Regions from separate parts of the Homo sapiens genome. Here regions 1, 2 and 4 are each linked to region 3. The links are contacts of gene promoters, found by promoter capture Hi-C in human tissues and cell types (Jung and others, 2019). All regions are on one chromosome and are shown on one strand. Each heading gives the region's core, a stretch centred on a gene start or on the middle of the fragment in contact. The rest is flanking DNA. Distances are from core to core; before and after follow the strand shown. Region 1 overlaps POLA2 (DNA polymerase alpha 2, accessory subunit). Region 2 holds the start of ATL3 (atlastin GTPase 3). Region 3 holds the start of ESRRA (estrogen related receptor alpha). Region 4 overlaps VPS51 (VPS51 subunit of GARP complex).

Evidence for each region. The method cuts DNA at HindIII sites, captures the fragments that hold promoters and counts their contacts. A contact is called where the count stands out against the background at its distance.
Region 1: a contact is called between a fragment that was not itself captured here and the fragment with the promoter of ESRRA in region 3, in 1 of the 25 tissues and cell types used here (dorsolateral prefrontal cortex).
Region 2: a contact is called between the fragment with the promoter of ATL3 here and the fragment with the promoter of ESRRA in region 3, in 1 of the 25 tissues and cell types used here (thymus).
Region 4: a contact is called between a fragment that was not itself captured here and the fragment with the promoter of ESRRA in region 3, in 2 of the 25 tissues and cell types used here (hippocampus and liver).

The regions. Positions count from the first base shown.
Region 1 is chr11:65,277,900-65,282,857 of GRCh38, reverse strand. It overlaps POLA2 (DNA polymerase alpha 2, accessory subunit), which reads right to left. Exons shown (of 18, transcript NM_002689.4): 6 at 3,935-4,128; 7 at 3,232-3,320; 8 at 1,711-1,866; 9 at 1,126-1,188; 10 at 337-379. Among named protein-coding and RNA genes, the nearest start is that of POLA2, 18 kb to the right of the region's middle. RefSeq lists an enhancer at 2,389-3,588. The HindIII fragment of the contact is 6,666 bases long and covers 1-4,583 here.
Region 2 is chr11:63,668,562-63,673,941 of GRCh38, reverse strand. ATL3 (atlastin GTPase 3) reads left to right here and starts at 2,566. Exons shown (of 13, transcript NM_015459.5): 1 at 2,566-2,652. The coding sequence starts at 2,607. RefSeq lists enhancers at 2,050-2,159, 2,200-2,699, 2,700-3,201 and silencers at 2,250-2,369, 2,690-2,749, 2,780-3,039. The HindIII fragment of the contact is 6,643 bases long and covers 460-5,380 here.
Region 3 is chr11:64,304,002-64,307,862 of GRCh38, reverse strand. ESRRA (estrogen related receptor alpha) reads right to left here and starts at 2,339. Exons shown (of 7, transcript NM_004451.5): 1 at 2,127-2,339; 2 at 359-695. The coding sequence starts at 683. CATSPERZ (catsper channel auxiliary subunit zeta) reads right to left here. Exons shown (of 5, transcript NM_001039496.2): 5 at 3,093-3,320. The coding sequence ends at 3,217. It overlaps KCNK4-CATSPERZ (KCNK4-CATSPERZ readthrough (NMD candidate)), which reads right to left. Exons shown (of 11, transcript NR_133662.1): 11 at 3,094-3,320. RefSeq lists an enhancer at 1,643-1,712 and a silencer at 2,123-2,632. The HindIII fragment of the contact is 12,153 bases long and covers 1-3,861 here.
Region 4 is chr11:65,103,645-65,108,615 of GRCh38, reverse strand. It overlaps VPS51 (VPS51 subunit of GARP complex), which reads right to left. Exons shown (of 10, transcript NM_013265.4): 3 at 889-1,035; 4 at 594-813; 5 at 1-419. Among named protein-coding and RNA genes, the nearest start is that of TM7SF2, 5.7 kb to the left of the region's middle. The HindIII fragment of the contact is 6,205 bases long and covers 242-4,971 here.

The DNA.
Region 1 (4,958 bases), core at 1-2,500, 980 kb before region 3:
CGCATCTGCCCATGCTGCATGTAAATAAATTCTTTTTGAAATCGTACATCTTTTCCTTTCCAAGGCAACCTTCAAAAATACCTGTTAAACATTAGTCTTTAAACAACATGCTTCATGTAGGCAGAACTCAGGCGACAGCACGACCAACGCTCACTGGGCTCAGACCAGGGGTCTTGTGACAAAAAACCTACGAACTCATGATGGTGGCGCCCTCACTGCTTGGTCACATTGCTCTTCAGCAGCTTCTGCAGCTTTCTTGGGCTTGGGAAACTGCACTCCTGGACTCATGTCTACCATCCTCATTGTTGGCAAAACAATATTTGAACCGAAACTCACCTGCATCCTCTTCAGTGGGCTGATAAAATGGAAGTGGCACACCCTAAAAACAGGGGAAAAGCTCAAGTAAGGTCTTGCGCCAGGCATCACCTTGGTAAGGAAAGGGGAGGGCACCAGGTTGGGGGTGGTGCAGGTGTGTGATGGGAGGACAGTGGGGAGGAGCGAGAGGGCAGGGGAAGGATGTGCCTCTGTCTTGCTCCCTGGATCTGATGGGACCTGCCATTTTTCTATACTGCTCAGAGGGCAAAGAAACCCAGGTAATGGGAGGTCACTACTCAATTGTCATAAAATACCCAGCAACAAGTGGGAGCAAAACAGGTGCCTAAAGTATCAGTGTACTTCTAGGCAAGGATGGGAGAGAATGGTTTCTTGCTACTTTTCCTGGCATTCTACGAAAATCTCTGGAGGATTGTTGCCTAGAGCAGGGATAGGTAACCTTTCGGCCTCTGGGCCAAATTTGGCTGCAGCCCACTATTTAAATAAAGTTTTATGGGAACACAGCCACAGTCATCTGTTTAAGAGTCCTCTATGGCTGCTTTTGTAGACAAAGGCAGAATTGAGTCATTGTGACAGAGACCATATAGCTACAAAGTCTAAAAGAGTTACTGTCTGGCCCTTTATAGAAAGGGTTTGCTGACCCCTGGCCTAGGGGTGGGTTCCCACTTACAGATGGAGAACTGACTAACAAATAAATGGGCTCCTAAAAAGGACCAGTTTCTAGAACAGACAGCTTCCAGACATACTTTGTCTGAAGCAAACCAAGAGGCAAGTGGGGGTACTGCTGTGTACCTCGTAGAGTTTGGTGGCAACAAGTTTCCTACCAGTGGTGTTGATTCCTTCCATAATTACAACCTGAAAGACAAAAACAAACAGGATTGCTAAGCAGTGGAGATCAATGAGGTCTGGAATACATTATTTTGAGGCAGTTAAAAGCATTGTCCAACTACTCTCATTCTGTAATCATAAACTTAGGGCATTTTTGTAGAAAACGAATTAAGGGCGTTGCATTAGTAATAATAATTATGCTCTATATAAGTGATCTAATTTTCACAACAATCCTATGAGGTAAGAATTATTATTTCCATTTTGTGAGTGAAGAAACTGTAGTTTAGATGGTTAAGTACCTTGTGCACAGTCATGCACCTCATGGAGCGGGGAGTTGGGATTTGAGGCTGCGCAGTCAGGTCCCAGAGCCTGGGTCAGAGCATGGGGGAAACAGGAATCCCAACAGTGGTGTCTGCTCTGGGGCATGTGCTCCAGCTGCACCCCATGGCAGCAGAGACAGGAACTGAGGAGCAGCTGCGCATGGCACAGCACCTACACTACAGGGGTAAAGAGTGCGCCTGCATTCTGGTGGAACTCCTCCAATCTCACCTGTCCAGGAAACAGAGAATATTCCTTAAGCTCAGATAAATCCACTGGAATTTGAGCACCCGAGGAATGTTCCCGGTCTCCCTCGAGAATCACTGACTTGTTGTTCAGCTTCCCGTTGCTATCACAGCCAATCTGGCCCAGCAGAGTGACAGGCTCCTACCAAAGGAAGGTCACAGCATAAGAATGACAGTCTTTGGAGCAGGAGCTCAAAATCTGAAGTCGATAGGGTGAATAGCAAAACAAACTGCAAACAACAAATACATTTCTTGGCAGGGCATTGCTTTGACCCTGAGGTGACTACCGCGTCATCACTGACTCTCAGGATGGAAGAACTCTGAAAGGGCATCTTGTCCACCCATCCACCCAGCACTTGAGCCTTCCTAGGAGGCTGCCTAAGTGTGAGCATCTCTAGTGTAGGGGAACTTGCCCCTGGATGCCTACCCCACCCTGTCCTCACCACCCCAGGGCAGCCCACTGCATCTTTGGGCAGCTATAACTACTTAATAATAGCTAACATTTCTTGAGCTTACTAAATACCATGCACTGTTCTAAAATGTATTCTTAGGCATTTTATATGTATTAACTCATTTAATCCTTGCAACAACCATCGGGTGGATATTACTGTATCCATTTTACAGATGAGGAAAACAAGCAACAGAAAGGTTAGATAATTTAGTCAAGGTCAAACTGTGGGTGAAGCTTGGGTTTGAAACCAGAAATTTGGCTCTAGAGCCATATCCTTAGCCACATACCATACAACCTCTTAACAGGAAGTTCTTTATTAATTGAGCTAAAATCTCTGTCTCCATGGCTTCCTCTGTTCTGTTCCCACTCTTGGGAGAAAACAGAGGAAGTCTCATCTTTCCCAGTGATTGTGCCTCCCTGCCTTCCCTCAATTACTTCCTTCCAAGTCCTCTAACACTTCCTTCTATGACACAGTTCTGCATCACTTCCCCAACTGATCATTCTTTGAATGTAAACATTGACAAAGGTACTTTAAAGAAACTTCTAGAATATATTTCCCCTTAGATTAGAAAACATTCTAGAGAGAAAGCACTGGTATATATGCCAGATTAAACTATGATATAAAGATACTATTGGCAGCAGTTTGTCTATAACAAGAGACCAAACCAGGGGAGAGACTGTGAGTCATTGTCCAGAGAACAAGATTCTGAAAACCCCACCGTCGCTGCTGTCCTTTTATCTCGATACGTGAATGCTTCTATTTGTGGGAAATCCCCGGGGAGCTACCTGACTCACCACCAAGGGAAACAAGGCCTTGAGTCTCTGCTTATGTGCAAGACTCTAATCCAAGTGGGAAGAAAATCACTCTCTGGCCACAAAACCAGACAGCACTTACAAATCTTTCTTCAGAAGGGCCCATTTTCCCAAATTCAACCAAGACAGATGTTCAAACTAGAACACAGACAAGAAGTGAAAAAGGAAGCAAGAAGGATGCCTCTTGGTCATCGATTTAAAAACGTAATATTAATTAGTGAGAACTATTAGAACAACTCTTACCTGTGCTGGGGCTAGCAAAGGAGTGAAAGCTTCAATCTTGTAATGTTCCTTGAGTTCGCTGCCAAGTTCTTCTATCTTACAGGTCAGAACTACAATCCCAGAAGTGGAAAAAAGTATTATGTTTAAGACATTTCACTTGCCAAGAAGAGAAAATACAGCACATTGTAAAATATTAAAGTCAGTCATTTTACAGAAGCAGGAAGGGTGCCTGGACATCTGGCCAGTTTAAACCTTCTAAAACCTTTGCCAATTTTCCGATATTTGGTTGCTGAATCTGGCCTTCCATCTGGCCACAGGAGACCCCATAGCACAATTCCAGGGAATCAGCATGAACCCCACCCCATCTCCAAGTCTGCCCTTTACTCAAGTCCTCACTGAGGTTTTAGGCAAGTCAAGGCCAACCTGAAGAAGGCTTCTAACGAAGGAACCATGAATATCTTTAAGTTGAATTCCTTTACATCGTTCAAGTTTTTGCTGCTGGGAATGGTTATGTGCGTTTTAGCAAAGTGAAGTGACTTGGGGCAATCACTGATAGTATTGCCCGTGTCCCTCCATTACTAGGGCTTCCATGAGGACATCTACCAACTCATACATTGAAAGGCAACCTTGGAACTTGTTCTACCAGCCTAGCTGAAGCTTTGTTACTCTACACCCTTCTAGGTGGTTTTATATCCACCAGAATTTCAAAGGGAAAAACAATCACCTTCTCGAATGTCTGGGAGCTTCTGAAACATGGATTTGTAGCTCCCAGTTAGTGCCTCTGGACATCCCAAGACCTTCAGGCTGATGTTTCCAGCTCCTCCTCTCCCAGACCAAGATACTCCCTGTGCTAAGCCGAAGGAGGTAACCACTTCTCCTCGGTTACTTCGTGAGTTGTATTTCTGGGAGGGAGTAGCACTAATTGGAAGCAAAACAGGTTAATATTACTGTGTTCATATCTAAAGGGAGAGAAGAATAAAATGAGGTTACCTTTGGAAATGGGGACTGGAGAAAAGGAAGGTGGCCTCATAGTTTATAAATTGAATCAGTTTAATGGGGTTGGACATACCCAGACCTTTAAGGAATTTCAGGAATGAAGGGCTGAGGAATACCAGGCTGAGGAATACCAAACATTTTTAGAGAAGTTTAGAGACAGAAACGTATTTTAAAAAGTTGTCGTTCTCTTGGCATTAAAACTAAGCAAGGCAAAAAGATCCCCAGATTCTGAATTGATTAAAAGGCAAACTTTAAGTCCCATTTTTTTCTTCTCATGAATTTTTAGCATTTATTGGAACATCATCTGAGCCTGCAACTGTGGATAAGCTAAAACTTGCTGAGCATATATAAAAACTCACAATATGGTTCAAGGTAGAAACAACAATAAAATGAAATTCAAATTAATCAATTTTCCCCAGTGTCTATGGAGGTGGGTAAGTAATGAATTAACAGTCTGGTGATGTGCAAACATTCCCATTTTTCTAGGCTCAACTGCCAAGTTCTCACATTTCCACTCCCTGACTGGTAAATTATACCTCTAAGAACACATGGATATTGCTGATCTGCTTAGATGACAGTGAGGTCTTCTAATCCTCTGGTTGTAAACACGCCGTACAGAGAGGTCTATTTAAAACAGGCTTTGTTTAATGCACTGAAACTCTGCGGGAACCAGTTTTATGTGGGGCACCATCGCAATTAATGCCATCATTCTTTCTTTTCACAGCCTACAGAAAATGAGCTCAATTAATTAT
Region 2 (5,380 bases), core at 1,317-3,816, 630 kb after region 3:
GCTGAACTGTGTCCCAGTACAGTCACAGTGAATGATATTTCCTCAGCTGTCTATCCCACAGGACTGCGAGTCTCTGGAGGATAGGAATGTGTCTTATGCAGCATTATGGCCTATCACGGTACCTGGCATATAACAAATGACCTATTTTTGGAAAGCTTTGGAACCTGAGTCATGGTGGATGCCATTGCAGAAAACAATTTTGCTATTTTTGTGTTTCATAAACCACTTGAGTATCTTGAATATTTATGACTTTATTTTGCTTTTCCAGAATGAATATGCTGATTACTAATTTTGATCACTAACCACGCAGTCATCATTTCCAAACACACAGCTCACTTAGCCTAGAACAACCGTGTGGGTCTTTAAATCATTTTGCAGATGATGAAATGGATTCAGAGAGGTTAAGTAGCTCGCCCAAGGTTGCATAGCTAGTGAACATCAGAGCCAGGTAAGTCTGACCCCAAAGCCAGTAGTCTGTCCACTCAAATATGTCTACATGTCACCTACTTCTGGAAAACCTCAAGGGAAGCTCAACCTCTGATCATAGCACATAACTCAATTCAGAGTGAGATAGCTGAAGGCAGGCTGTAACCAGTATTGTCAATATTTGGCACTTTCAATGTCCAGTGTTTTGATGACCCTGGATATTTGAGAAGGAAATAACACAAAACATGTTTCTCATTTACAGGGGTTGCTTTCTAAGTTGTGACTAATCCTTAAGTCCACCTATAATTTGTACTGTTTTGTTCCAAATGCCAAAAGCTTCTACAAGGGCTACAATGCTGATGTGCTAACATTGACCTTGATACCTTGATGATGTAATATTGAGACATATATCAGTATTTGCTGGTCACTTCCTGAGAAGTTGGATTTCAGTGAATCTCTGGGGAGCCCTTAAAATAAACTAGGGTATTTTGTTCAATAGTAAAAGTTAGGTATTTAATATTAAAGGAACCAGAAAGTGAGTGAGCAGTGTTAGATGTAACATATATCTTCTTCATCCATTAATTCAATAGATATTTGAGTCTCTATTATCTGCCAGCAGTATTTAGGGACTGGGGATATACAAGTAAACAAAACAGACAAAAATTCCTATCTGTTTGGAACTTACATTCAGTGGGAAGAGACAAACACAATGAAAGGTAAAACATAAGTCAGATAGTAGCAGGAAGTCTTTTTTTTTTTTTTTTTTTTTGAGATGGAGTCTTGCTCTTTCTCCCAGGCTGGAGTGCAGTGGTGCCATCTCCACTCAATGCAACCTCTCCTGCCTCAGCCTCCCGAGTAGCTGGGATTACAGGCGCCTGCCACCACGCCTGGTTAATTTTTTGTATTTTTAGAAGAGATGGGGTTTCACCATGTTAGCCTGGCTGGTCTTGAACTCCCGACCTCAGGTGATCCAACCACCTCAGCCTCCCAAAGTGCTGGGATTACAGGCGTGAGCCACCGCGCCTGGCCAAGTGGTATGAAGTCTTTTGGAGAAAAGTAATGCAGGGAAAAGGAGCAGAGAATGCTGGGATGTGCGTGCAAGTTTTTTTTTTTTTTTTTTGATGGAGTTTTGCTCCTGTTGCCTACGCTGGTGTGCAATGGTGCGATCTCGGCTCACTGCAACCTCCGCCTCCTGGGTTCAAGCGATTCTCCTGTTCAGCCTCTGGACTAGCTGGGATTACAAGCGTGCGCCACTACGCCTGGCTAATTTCGTATTTTTAGTAGAGACGGGGATTCTCCATGTTGGTCAGGCTGGTCTCGAACGCCCACGACCTCAGGTGATCCACCCGCCTCGGCCTCCCAAAGTGCTGGGATTACAGGCGTGAGGCACGGCGCCCGGCCTGGACTTCTTACATTAGCTATCAGAGCGGTGATGGTGCGCATCAGCCATGGCCAGGGACAGGAATATAGGGAGATGATAATAAAGGTGGTAATGAAGTCACGGCCACCTGCCCTTATGAAGTCAAAATCATTAAAGACCCAGTGACGTTCATGCCATCCAGGGTTGAGGCCTCTCTTCTGCCCACCTGTGGTCCCAGGCCTAGTTAAACACCAAAGCTGTCTCTCACACTGGTGGTTCCAGGATAAAGCCTCGGCCTGGGGCCTGGTCTGCACGTTAGGCGCCGGCCGCAGCTCGCAGGAGGACCCGAGCCAGCCCGCCCCTTCCCGCACAGCCTGCTGGGAGTTGTAGTTCAGTCGTCGGAGAACCACGCCAAGCCCCGCCCCAGATGAGTGCGCAGTATGAGGACCGCTGGCCGGGACCCAGTGAGCGCGGGACTACAATTCCCAAAGGACGGTAGCACTCAGCGCCCCGCCAACAGGTACCCGGCGGCTCGCTTCGCGCACACGCGGCAGGCGGTGGCGGGATTCTGCCGCGTGCGCTTTCCCGCCCCGCCTCGCCTAGCCTCGTCCTGCGCTCGCCACGCCTCGGGCTGTCCGTTGGGCCACGCAGACCGCGCTGCGCTCGCTCCGTCGCGGCTCCGCGTGCCCCACCTTCTGGCTAGTTTTTTCTAGAGCCCAGGCTCCGCCCGTTTCCCGCTTCCAGGGCCCGGTTCGTTCCCGCCCGCACCCGTCCCTCTCCTCTGCACCCCTGCTGCTTCTGCTTTGAAGGCGGAGGCTCCATGTTGTCCCCTCAGCGAGTGGCAGCAGCTGCCTCAAGAGGAGCAGGTGAGGCGCCGATTTTCCCTGGATCGCCCCGCGGCCACCCCCGCCGCCTTCCCTGCTGTAGTTCTGAAAAGAACCCCCGCCCGCGCCGCCGCCCTTCCTCGTCCCGGGGCTGGGACCGCGCGTCCCTCGCCGGGGTCACTCGGTTTCCGAATTTGTGGTGGGGGGGCCCCTCTTCGGGCCCAGCTGGTCCAGCGAGGGCGGCACCTTCCTTACTTTTCGGCCGGGGGCGGCCGCCGTCAGGGCTCGGGCCCTGGTGCCGCCGGGGGCTCCTCCAGCTCCTCCCCTGGGCTGCAGCTGCCCCTGGGCGGCCCAAGGGCCGGTGGTCCCCGTGGGCGGCGTCCGGAGCTTCGGCCCCGCCGAGCCCCGCCCTGGGCAGAGCCGGGCGCCCCAGGGCGCTGCCCCTCCGTGCCCGGGCACTCAGCGCCCTCTCTGGTCGGAGAATCGGGGCCTGGATGGAGCGGGAAGGTGAATGCTGGTTTATTTGGCCTTTCTGGAAGTGCTGGAAGGCTGCGAAGTGTCTTGGAAGCTTTATTTTTATCCTAACGACCTTGAGGCACTGACCACAAGTATTAGGAAAGTTGGTTTTCAACCCATACTTAACGCTGTAAAGAATTGGTCTAAATTGGTTTTTCGTAAGTTAGTGCTTTTGGCACAGTACGTTGTTCTTTTGCTTTCCCGAAGACATGAAACATAGTGAAAGTATTAAAAACCAAATAAGGAGTCACCGTGTATTCACGGATCTGATTTAGTCTGTCATTTTACTTGGCTTTATTCTAGTGTAATGTGTGTGCTGTTGAAATGACCGTTTCACTTGCGAAATCGAAGAGCAAAAAGGAAAAGAACAGTGAAGAATTTTTAAATGAGTCTCAGTTCTCAAATTCAAATACGAAGCAATGGAACGTTTTGTCAGTCTTAGAATAACGGACCAAAAATGTACGATTTCACATATTGGCTTACTTTTGGAGATTTAAGAAGCATAACCTACGGAGTACTAATCCCTGTCAAGAATTTAGCATTGCAACATAGGTACTGAAATTCAAATTAGTGCTTTTTTTTTTCCATTCCCACAGAGATTAGCTTGTACTCCAGAAATTCCTGTTGCCGCTCTAACACCTGTAAACACTTGGCTGAGAAGGATCTCAGTATTGCAGTAGTCCAGCACATTGTTTTATTATTATTTTTTGAGACGGAGTTTTGCTCTGGTCACCCAGGCTGGAGTGCAATGGCGCGATCTCGGCTGATTGCAACCTCCGCTTCCTGGGTTCAAGCAATTCTTCTGCCTCATCCTCCCGGGTAGCTGGGATTACAGGCGCTCTCCACCATGCGCGGCTATTTTTTTTTGAGACGGAGTTTCGTTTTTGCTACCTAAACTGGAGTACAGTGGCGCAGTCTCGGCTCACTGCACCCTCCGCCTCCTGGGTTCAAATGATTCTCCTGCGTCAGCCTCCCGAGTAGCTGGGATTATAGACATCCGCCACCAGGCCCAGCTAATTTTTTGTATTTTTAGTAGAAACGGGGTTTCACCACGTTGGCCAGGCTGGTCTCGAACTCCTGACCTCAGGTGAACCACCCTCCTCTCCTCGGCCTCCCAAGTACTGGGATTACAGGCGTGAGCCATCGTGCCCGGCCCATTATTGTATTAGCTACAGTTTACTACCTCATTGTAGTAGAATTCATGAAATAGAAGTAACGGGATAGATGTGGTGTTGTGTACTAGCTTAATTTTCTTTTTCTTTTCTTTTTTTTTCTTCTGGTGAGAAGGAGTCTTGCTCTCTCGCCCAGGGTGGAGTGCAATGGCGCGATCTCTGCTCACTGCAACCTCCGCCTCCCAGGTTCAAGCGATTCTCCTGCCGCAGCCTCCCAGGTAGCTGGGATTACAGGCGCCCTCCACCGCGCCTGGGTAATTTTTGTATTTTTAGTAGAGACGGGGTTTCACCATGTTTGCCAGGCTGATCTTGAACTCCTGACCTCAGGTGATCCTCCTAGCTCGGCCTCCCAAAGTGCTGGGATTGCAGGTGTGAGCCACGGCGCCTGGCCCAGTTGCGTGGTATTTCGATTGTCAGAACACCTTAGATATATTTCACAGCTGAAGTATGTTAACAGATTAGAAGACAGGCTTTCCTGGTATAGTAGGCGCTAATTAGGAAATCCTTACTTGGCCGGGAGCTGTGGTTTACTCCTGTAATCCCAGCATTTTGGGAGGCTGAGGCAGGTGGATCACCTGAGGTCAGGAGTTCAAGACCAGCCTGGCCAACATGGTGAGACGCCCCCCCCCACCCAAAAAAAAATTAAAAAAAAGTTAGCCAACGTGGTGTTGCAGGCCTGTAGTTCTGGCTACTCAGGAGGCTGAGGTGAGAGGATGGAGTGAGCCCAGGAAGTTGGCTGCAGTGAGCCTTTTTTTTTTTCTTTTTTCTGCAGTGAGCCTTGTTCTTGCCACTGCACTCCAGCCTAGGCAACAGAGTGAGACCTTGTCTCAAAAAAAAAAAAAAAAAAAAAAAAGGAACACAGCTAATTCAAACCTTTGGTGGCATTCTTATTCTTAGGAAAGAGATACAAAAGTGTTACTGAGCTCATTCCATTAAAAAGGTTTTTTTCCTCCACTTGTGATATAGCCTGGCATCATTTTCAGATTCAGCCCTCTCCTTGGATTTTCTGAATCTTCAGTACCATTTAGTCATAGATAATTTTTGTAAACCTATGAAGCATTACACAATCCTTAGTCAACAAC
Region 3 (3,861 bases), core at 1,090-3,589:
AATTAACAAAAAGGGGACATGTTCTATGCTGGGGAGAGGTCAGAAGCTGCCAGAAACAAGAACAAAGCTTAGGAACAGACAGAGGCTGCCTTGGACTCTTTCAGAGCCACTGTAGAAGGTGCTGGGCCTAGAGTACCCAGGTGGTACCCTGAACTCACTCACATCCACTGCAATGCATCAGCACACCCGGTGCTTTTACCATACTTCTCAGGGAAAGAGTGTCTCTGGGAGGTAGAGGGACTGGAAACACCAGATTGTTAGCCTCAAGCGGTGCCACAGCCATCAGGGGGCCTATTGCACCCAGCAGTGTACCCAGAGGGTGCAGGGCAAAGGACAGGGGAGTGGGCTGGGGGCTCACCCTGGATGGTCCTCTTGAAGAAGGCTTTGCAGGCCTCACAGGATGCCACACCATAGTGGTAGCCGGAGGCCACGTCCCCACAGACCAGGCAGAGGCGCTTGGGCAGGGAGCTGAGCACCAGCTTCCCACCGCCCTGCTCGCCAGGCCCAGCCCCCTCCCCATCCTCCTCTTCCTTGTGGCCTGGGAGGCAGCGAGTGGGAGCTGGACCAGGGGCCAGGGCCACAGGAGGCTCGGTCTCTGTCTCCGAGGAACCCTTTGGACTGTCAGGGCTGGCCGGCTCTGCCTTGATGTAGAGAGGCTCAATGCCCACCACCTGGCTGGACATGGCGCTGGTCACCTGCACGGAGAGACCCATAGGTTCGCAGGAAAGCACTGGTATGGGGGATGGGAGACACCCTGCCACACGGGTTGCCCAACCTCGGGCCTAGGGCCAGGCTTCCAAGCCCAGCAAGTGGGGAAGAAGGGGGGCAGAGTCCAAGGAAGGACTGCCCAGGAACACTGCCCCCTCCTAGCTGTTGCCATGGAAACAGAGTCTTCAGGGCCAGTAACTGACAGCAGGTCTCCCCCTTGGGAACCTGGGGGAGGCTTAGAAAGCCCCTACTCCCACCCAGGCCAGGGAGCAGGGTAACCGTAGCCCCCAGGCAACCTTCAACCCCACCTGGAATCCCTAGCCAGGAGCAGGATACTTCCCAGTTTTCTCCAGATGTTGGGGGGACCTCTGAGACCCTGCCCTCATCTGGGTATTCTGCATTGGAGAGCAGACCCAAGGCCAGTGGACGTGCTCACACCGAGTTCACACACTCCACTCACCGGGGTGCTCAGGAGCCCCACAAGCCCACGCAGGCTCGCTCTCTGCTGAGGGCTTTCACACTTGCACCGGCCTTCCCAAACCCGTGCTCACTCCTGCTCACACTTGTGCTCACACACTTCTCCTGGAGCGCACACCCCATCCACGAACTCAGTCAAGGCTCATGATCACACACACTCTCACTAGGTCTCCCCACATCCACACGCACAGGCACGGACTCATGAAAACACCTCCAGAGCTTTTCACACCTGACACGCGGCTGCCCTCCTGCCCCAGCATGCCGGTCCCAGGCACACGGCGGGCGCCGCTCCACCTCCTCGCGACCAGCCTGCAGGTCCACTCTTATACTCCCGCTGTCGCAGAGGCCGCCACCTCCCGGGGCGCCGCGTCCCGCCCCCAACCTGCGCACACCTTTGGGAAGTTGCCTAAAGTTGCTACGCCTCCCCCTCCCCGCCCGCGGGAGACCTCTACCAGGTTATCAGGAAGTAAGTGGGGAGAGCCAAGGAGGAGGAAGTTCTCCCCTGCCGGTGCGATGACCTTTGACCCAGAGAGGAGGGTGGCCCCAGGCCCCTTCGAGCGCCCCCACGTGGTCTTCAGAGCCCCTTCCCAGACATAGAGCCCTCCCCGTCTTCCACCCCGGCCAGCCCCAGGGACTTCGGCAAATGCGGGATTGAACCCTGCCCCGGAGCGGGCTGGATCGGAGGCCCAACCCTGACCCGAGTCAGGACCCGCAGCCAGAGCCAGATCCTGCCCCAGGCCGGCCCACCAGGACTCGGACGCCGGATCCCGCCTGAACCCTGACCAGTCCGACCCTCGACTGGGTCCCAACCGTGGCCCGGACTGGCCCCAGAGTCGGACCCCGCCTGCAGCCCGCCCCGCCCGCCTCCCTGCCGCGCTCGCACATGGCCCCCGCGCCCCGCCCGCCCACCCCCGCGGCAGCGCTCCCCTCCGCCCCCGGACCTGGGGCTCCGGCAGCGCGGTCGGGCAGGCATGGGGGCCGAGCGGCCCGGAGTGCCGGAGTGAGCCGGGGGCCGCGGGCGGCCCCTCCTCCGCCGCCTCCTCGGGCCGCGCCGCCCCACCGCGCCGCGTCCCCTCACTCGGCGGCGCCGCCGGCTGCTTGTAGGACACAAAAGGACATCGCGGCCGCTTCCTACTCCGCTTCCTCCAGCTGACAGCGGGGGTGGGGCCGGCCGTGCGCATGCAAAGCAGGGGGCGGGGCCCGGGGTCCTATGCTAATCAGACCAGCGGGGCGGGCGGCGCCTGCGCGCCCGGACGAGTCGGGGCGGAGCCGGCAGCGCCAGTGGGCGGGCCTTCGTGCAGGTCCCGCCCCGCAGCCCGCCGAGCCACTGCGGCGCACATGCGTACGCGGCCCCTGGGAGGGGCGGGGCCGGAGACGCGGAGGGCGGGGACAATAGAGCCGAGAGCAAGTGGGGCCAGAAGCGCTCTTTCGTAACGGAGGAGGCGGGGCTTGCTGCGCGCGAGAGGAGTGGGCGAGGCGGTGCAGGCTGCAGTCGCGGAGCCAAGAGACCACTTACAGATGAAAACGCAAGGGCGGGACGAGCGGAGAGGCTGGACCTGCTACCTATGCTTGAGGGGCGGAGCCTAGCGCGCCGTCGCGAGGAGGGAGGTGCTGCCCCGTTCCCCCTACCCCCTTCCCCCAAAGCGACACCAACTGAGCACTCGAACCGTAGACCCAGTAGCCCCACAGAGCTGCGGAACTCGGGGTGGGTGAAGCCGACTTAAAACATGCAATAAGTCCTGGATTGCGAGTCCCGGAAGGTAGGGCCGATAGGGCCCGGACGGAGAAAGCTCAAGGTCACTGCGGTGACCGAATGAAGGTCACTGCGGTGACCGAATGAAGGTCACGGGGAAGGGCGGGGCCACGTGCGTCCGCCTCACGCGGGCTGTCCTGCACTGACTCACGGACCATGCATCGACTCTTTTATTTCTTTAGGACTCAAATTCCACTCGGATGGGGTCAGGCTTGGGTCTGGGGACCGGGCTGGCACGGGGCTGGTTCGGGTCGCTGCTCGAGCCCAAGGTGGCGTTTTTAATTCACGTACAGCCTCTTGCTCCGGCGCTTCTTGAGCCCTTCGATGTATCGCTGCAGCTCCTTAGTCAGGAAGTGGTCCCTGCCGATCCCTAACTGGTAGCCTAGGAGGAGGGCAGAGCTCGGCTCAGGGCAGTGAGCAACCGAAAGGTCTCCCCACCAGGGGGCGCCGCATGTGTGATTCGAGGAACCGCAGATGATTCGAGGTAGCAGTAGCGCAGGGCACTCAGGTCTGTGTTAGCCTGGGGAACTTTGCATCTCTAAGGGTGCTGAGTGTTAAGGTGGAGGATGGATGAGGTCAAGGCTAGGGAAGAGGTTGCAGGCCTGAACTAGGGCGGTGGTAGCGAGCAGTTTGCCCACCTTCTGGACCAGCCACCCACTCTAAGCCATCAGCTGGCCCTTTATCACCGCTGGGCTTTCCTACCACAGCAGCAAAAGTTCACCCACATAATCCACTGTCCAAAGGCTCCTCACAACTCCCCAACCAGAGGCAGTCGAGGCCACACCAAGGCGGTCATCCCACTGTGCAGGTGGAGAAACAGCCACAGAAAAGCCTCCCTCAGCTGGAGAGGGGCTGCACTCAGCCTGGAGCCCAGGCCTCTGCCCATCACCACATGTCCCCCACTGGGTCTTCCTGTGCCCAGT
Region 4 (4,971 bases), core at 2,095-4,594, 800 kb before region 3:
GAGCCCGCAAGCGCCGGTGGAAGCGGTCCAGCGCCCGCACCAGCAGTGAGTTGTCACCACCACCCTGCTCCTGCGCCAGCCGCCGCTCCACCAGCGCAAAATAGCGGCTGCCCAGCTGCCGGGCGAAGGCCGCCAGCTTCTCGGCACCTGCTGGGCCCTGGGCCGCAAACAGCTCCTGGTAGGCCGCCGCCACCTGGCAGAGGCCGCCCACGAAGCCACTGCCTCCATGGTCGGTGAACTCTAACACGTCGGGAGCCGGAGGTGAGGGCCCCAGCTCGGCCTCCAGGTTTCTCAGCTCCTTCTCCAGCCGGCCGCGGGCGTGCGCCAGGAACTCCTCGCACAGCTCCTCCGCAGGCTCGCCCAGGGCCAGCAGCAGCTCCACGCACTCTGCCTGCTCCGGGGCGCCTGAGCCGCCCTCCCTGCACGAGGGAGAGGTAGTGAAGGGCAGGGCCGGGGCTGCCGGTGGATGGGGCAGGAGCAGGAAAGCAAAGCACACACAGGGCAGGGGGACAGCTCCAGGAGGGCCCAGGAGCCGGGCACAGATGGGGCTCGGGGCTGGCGGGAGCGCTGGGGTCAGGGCAGAGGGGCCACACCTAAAGCGCTGCCGCAGCTGCTGGGCCAGGCGGGCCGTGATGACCTGGCAGTCGTCCTGGATGGCGCGGAACGAGGGCAGGTGTTGGTACTGCTGCAGCACGGCCTGCGCGCGGCCCTGGTAGCGCACCGCCTGCCCATAGGCGCCCAGTTCCACGCACTTGGTGAGGCGCGAGGGCAGCTCAAAGAGGAACTGCAGCTTCCGCAGCAGCGCGTGGACCCCTGGGGGACGGAGGGTGACGTTAGCCCCAGAGCCCCAGGAAAGGCCCACTGCAGGCCCTGCCCGGCAGCGCCCACCTGCCAGCTTGGTGATGCGCTCGTGGCGGTCCTGCAGCGTGGCGCTGATGCGAGCGCTGAAGTCGGTGATCACTGCCATGTTGGTGGCCAGCCGGTCCATCTCATCCTCCATCTTCCGGAAATCGTTCTTCATCTTCCGGATGGTGTCTAGGAGGGCAGGGGCGGGGAAAAGGGGAGAGCAGGTGACTGCAGGGCGGGCGCAACCTCAGCTCCTTCTCACCCACCCCTTCACAGACGCCCCAGCTTGCTCCAGGGGCGCATGGATGATTCCAGAGAAAGGACTGCGAGGGCGTGGGTCACAGCGCACATGGGGGCGGGGGAGGGGGTTTATGTTCCCAAAGCAGGCGTTACTCACATACTCCCCGTAACCCCCTAACCCTGGTGCCCAGGAGAGCCGGCCCTCAGAATTAGTCCAGATCCGAAGCAGGCCGCAGGTGCTTAGCCAGCTGCCACCACTGTGCCTCAACTGCTCCATCAGACCACAAGCAGCCAAGGCAGGGACCGCTGGCTCCCAAGCGCATCTGCGTGTCCAGCGCACTGCCTGGATGAGGCAATACATTCTTGTTGACCCTCATCTCCTTTCCAGACCTCCCAAAGCCTTTCACATGCTTTCCGGAACATGGGCTGTCTTCTCTGAAGGGCCCTTTCCCTTTGGTCCTGATAGAATCCTGCCTAGGGAGGCTGTTTTTCCTTTCACACACCAGGTGCCTGGGAGCCTGGTCCCTTCATGCTTCTAAATCATGCCTAGATCTCCTCTCTTCAAAACCCCGGCTTCTAGGAAGACCATGCCATCAAGCCACAACCCTCCTCTTTGCTGTCTCTACTGTCCTCTGACACTCCTCTCAGTTCCCCATCACTGCCTCTTCTCCTCCTCCTGTCACCTCCTTGTGCACATCCACATGGATGAGCCTTCCAATGTTCCTGACTGTTCACTGACGGCCTCAATTCAATTCCACCTATTCTTTTTTTTTTTTTTTGAGACTGAGTCTCGCTCTGTCGCCCAGACTGGAGTGCAGTGGCACGACCTCTGCTCACTGCAAACTCCAATTCCCAGGTTCACACCATTCTCCTGCCTCAGCCTCCCAAGTAGCTGGGACTACAGGTGCCTGCCACCACACCCAGCTAATTTTTTGTATTTTTAGTAGAGATGGAGTTTCACCATGTTAGCCAGGATGGTCTTGATCTCCTGACCTCATGATCCGCCCACCTTGGCCTCCCAAAGTGCTGGGATTACAGGCATGAGCCACCGCACCCGACGAGGTCTGATGGTTTTATAAGGGGCTCTCCCTGCTTCGCTTAACACTTCTCCTTCCTGCTGCCTTGTGAAGAAGATGCCTTGCTTCTCTTTCACCTTCTGCCATGATTGTAAGTTTCCTGAGGCCTCCCCAGCCATGCTGTGAACTGTGAGTCAATTAAACCTCTTTCCTTTATAAGTTACCTAGTCTCGGGCAGTTCTTTACAGCAGTATGAACCTGGATTAATATACCTAGTAATCAATCCATTACCAAGTCATGGAAGGTCTACCTGCAACATTTTCTTTGTAAGCCACTATCATCTCTTGTCCAACAACTGCCAACATTTCCCAACTAATTTCCCTAATTCCATTGAACATACCAACAATGTTCATAAAGAAAGGCGAAGAGGATAAGACAGAAATGTGTATCTGTAACAGGAGATATTTTGGTTTTGTTTTGTTTGAGAAAGAGTCTCACTCTGTCACCCAGGCTGGAGTGCAGTGGCGCGATCTCAGCTCTGGAGGCTCCTGGAGGGTGGCACGCCCGGGGAGGGCATGGAAACTCCATGCTCCTTCTCCTACACCTCGCCCTATGCACCTGCTCATCTGTACCCTTTGTAACATCCTTTGTAATAAACTGGTAAATGTGTTATCCTGAGCTCTGTGAGCCACTCCAGCAAACTGAGCCCAAAGAGGGAGTTATGGAAACCCCTACCTGGAGCCAGTTGGTCAGAAATTCTGGAGGCCTGAGGCCCTGACCTGCAGCTAGTGCCTGAAAGTGGGGAGGCAGATTTGGGACTGAACTAGTGCCTGAAGGGAGGCAGGCTTGGGGACTCAGCCCTCAACTCATGGAATCTGATGCTATCTCTGGGTAAATAGTGTTGGAATTAAATCAGAGGACACCCAGCGGGTGTCTGCTGCTTGGTGTGTGGGGAAGAAACCCAACACATTTGGTCACAGAACTCTTCTGTGGTCATGATTGTGGTGATGTGAGAGCATAGGAAGCACACAGTTTGCATTTTTCCCAAACAATGCCATAAAATATATACAAACCTTTCCATATGGTAGATCACAAAGAAAAAAACCTCATTCTTTTTTTTTTTTTGAGACAGGGTCTCCCTCCGTCGCCCAGGCTGCAGTGCAGTGGCGCGATCTCAGCTCACTGCAACCTCCACCTCCTGGGTTCAAGCGATTCTCCTGCCTCAGCCCCGAGTAGCTGGGATTACAGGCACGTGCCACCATGCCTGGCTAATTTTTGTACTTTTAGTAGAGAGGGTTTCACCATGTTGGCCAGACTGGTCTCTGACCTCAAGTGATCCACCCGCCTCGGCCTCCCAAAGTGCTGGGATTACAGGCGGGAGCCACCGTGCCCAGTCGAAAAAACCTCATTGTTAACCAATTATGAGGTCAGAAAAGGAAATCAAAACTGAAATTGCAGCATGGGTAAAATACCAAGAAAACACTAAATTGGTAAGGGCTTGGTGAATTCTATGGATGAAATGGATAATTTGCTACAAAAATAGGATTTACCAAAATGGATTGCAAAAAACAAGAAAACAGAAACAGAAAAACTAGAGAATGTTGTGAAAGAAAGGTCCTACTCCCCTTTCCCCTCCACACAAAGGCATCTGGCCCAGATGTCCAGGGGTGTTGCGGCGGCTTGAAGGACAGCGCCTTCCAATTCTCTGTGTAAACACTGCCCCAGCAGAGAAACGAGAACAGCTCTCACACAAACTTGATGGAACAAACATAACACTGTTATGAAAACATAACAGAAATACCTCACATATACACATTCATATCTCTTATGAATGGAGATGCAAGGATGAATTAAATAAACAAATGGAGATGCACAAATAAGCAAACAAAATCCAGCAGCATATTAAAATAATAATTGATAAACACAAAAGGGTTTTTGTTTCATGAATGCCAGGATGACTCAAAATTAGAGGATCTCATAATAATTTGCCATGTTAATAGATATTTCAACATCTATTCTTGATTTTTAAAAAACTCTCAATAACATATGAGCAGCTAAATATTTCCCTGACCTCCAAAACTCAGTATCATGTTTACCGAGGCAGTGCTAGAAGCACTCCAATTAAAGTCAAAACATGGCAAGGACAACCTTGATTGCCAATGTTATCTACATTGTTCTGGGGCATTAGCCAACTCAGCTAGAGTCACGAGATGTATTATGGAGATACACAAATTGGAAAGGAGGGAGAAGTATCACTATTTGCAGATGATATAATCAAATAAATAGGCCAGCCACGGTAGCTCATGCCTGTAATCCCAGCACTTTGGGAGGCCGAGGCAGGCAGATCACTTGACGTCAGGAGTTTGAGACCAGCCTGGCCAACATGGTAAAACCCTGTCTCTAGTAAAAATACAAAAAGTAGTTGGGCGTGGTGGCAGGTGCCTGTAATCCTAGCTACTGGGAAGGCTGAGGCAGGAGAATCGCTTGAACCCTGGAGGCACAAGTTGTAGTGAGCTGAGATTGTGCCACTGCACTCTAACCTGAGTAATAGAGCAACACTCTGTCTCAAATAATAATAATTGAATAAATAGAAAGCCCTAAAAAAAAAAAACAAAAAAAAACACCCTGTAAACGTTACTATAAACAATAAGAGATACCACTTTTCACTTCTCAGATTGTCAAAGATTGAAAGAGGTATTCTCTTCTTTGCTGGTGGTTATGCAAACTGATCAGCATTTACAAAGAAGAATCTGGAAATATCTAACTGCAATCACTTGTGAGCCTTCACACACCCACACCTGGTCTGTGTGTGGCTCTGGGACTGTAGGAATGTTCTCCAAGCAACACTGGGAATCTACCCCACTTGGGG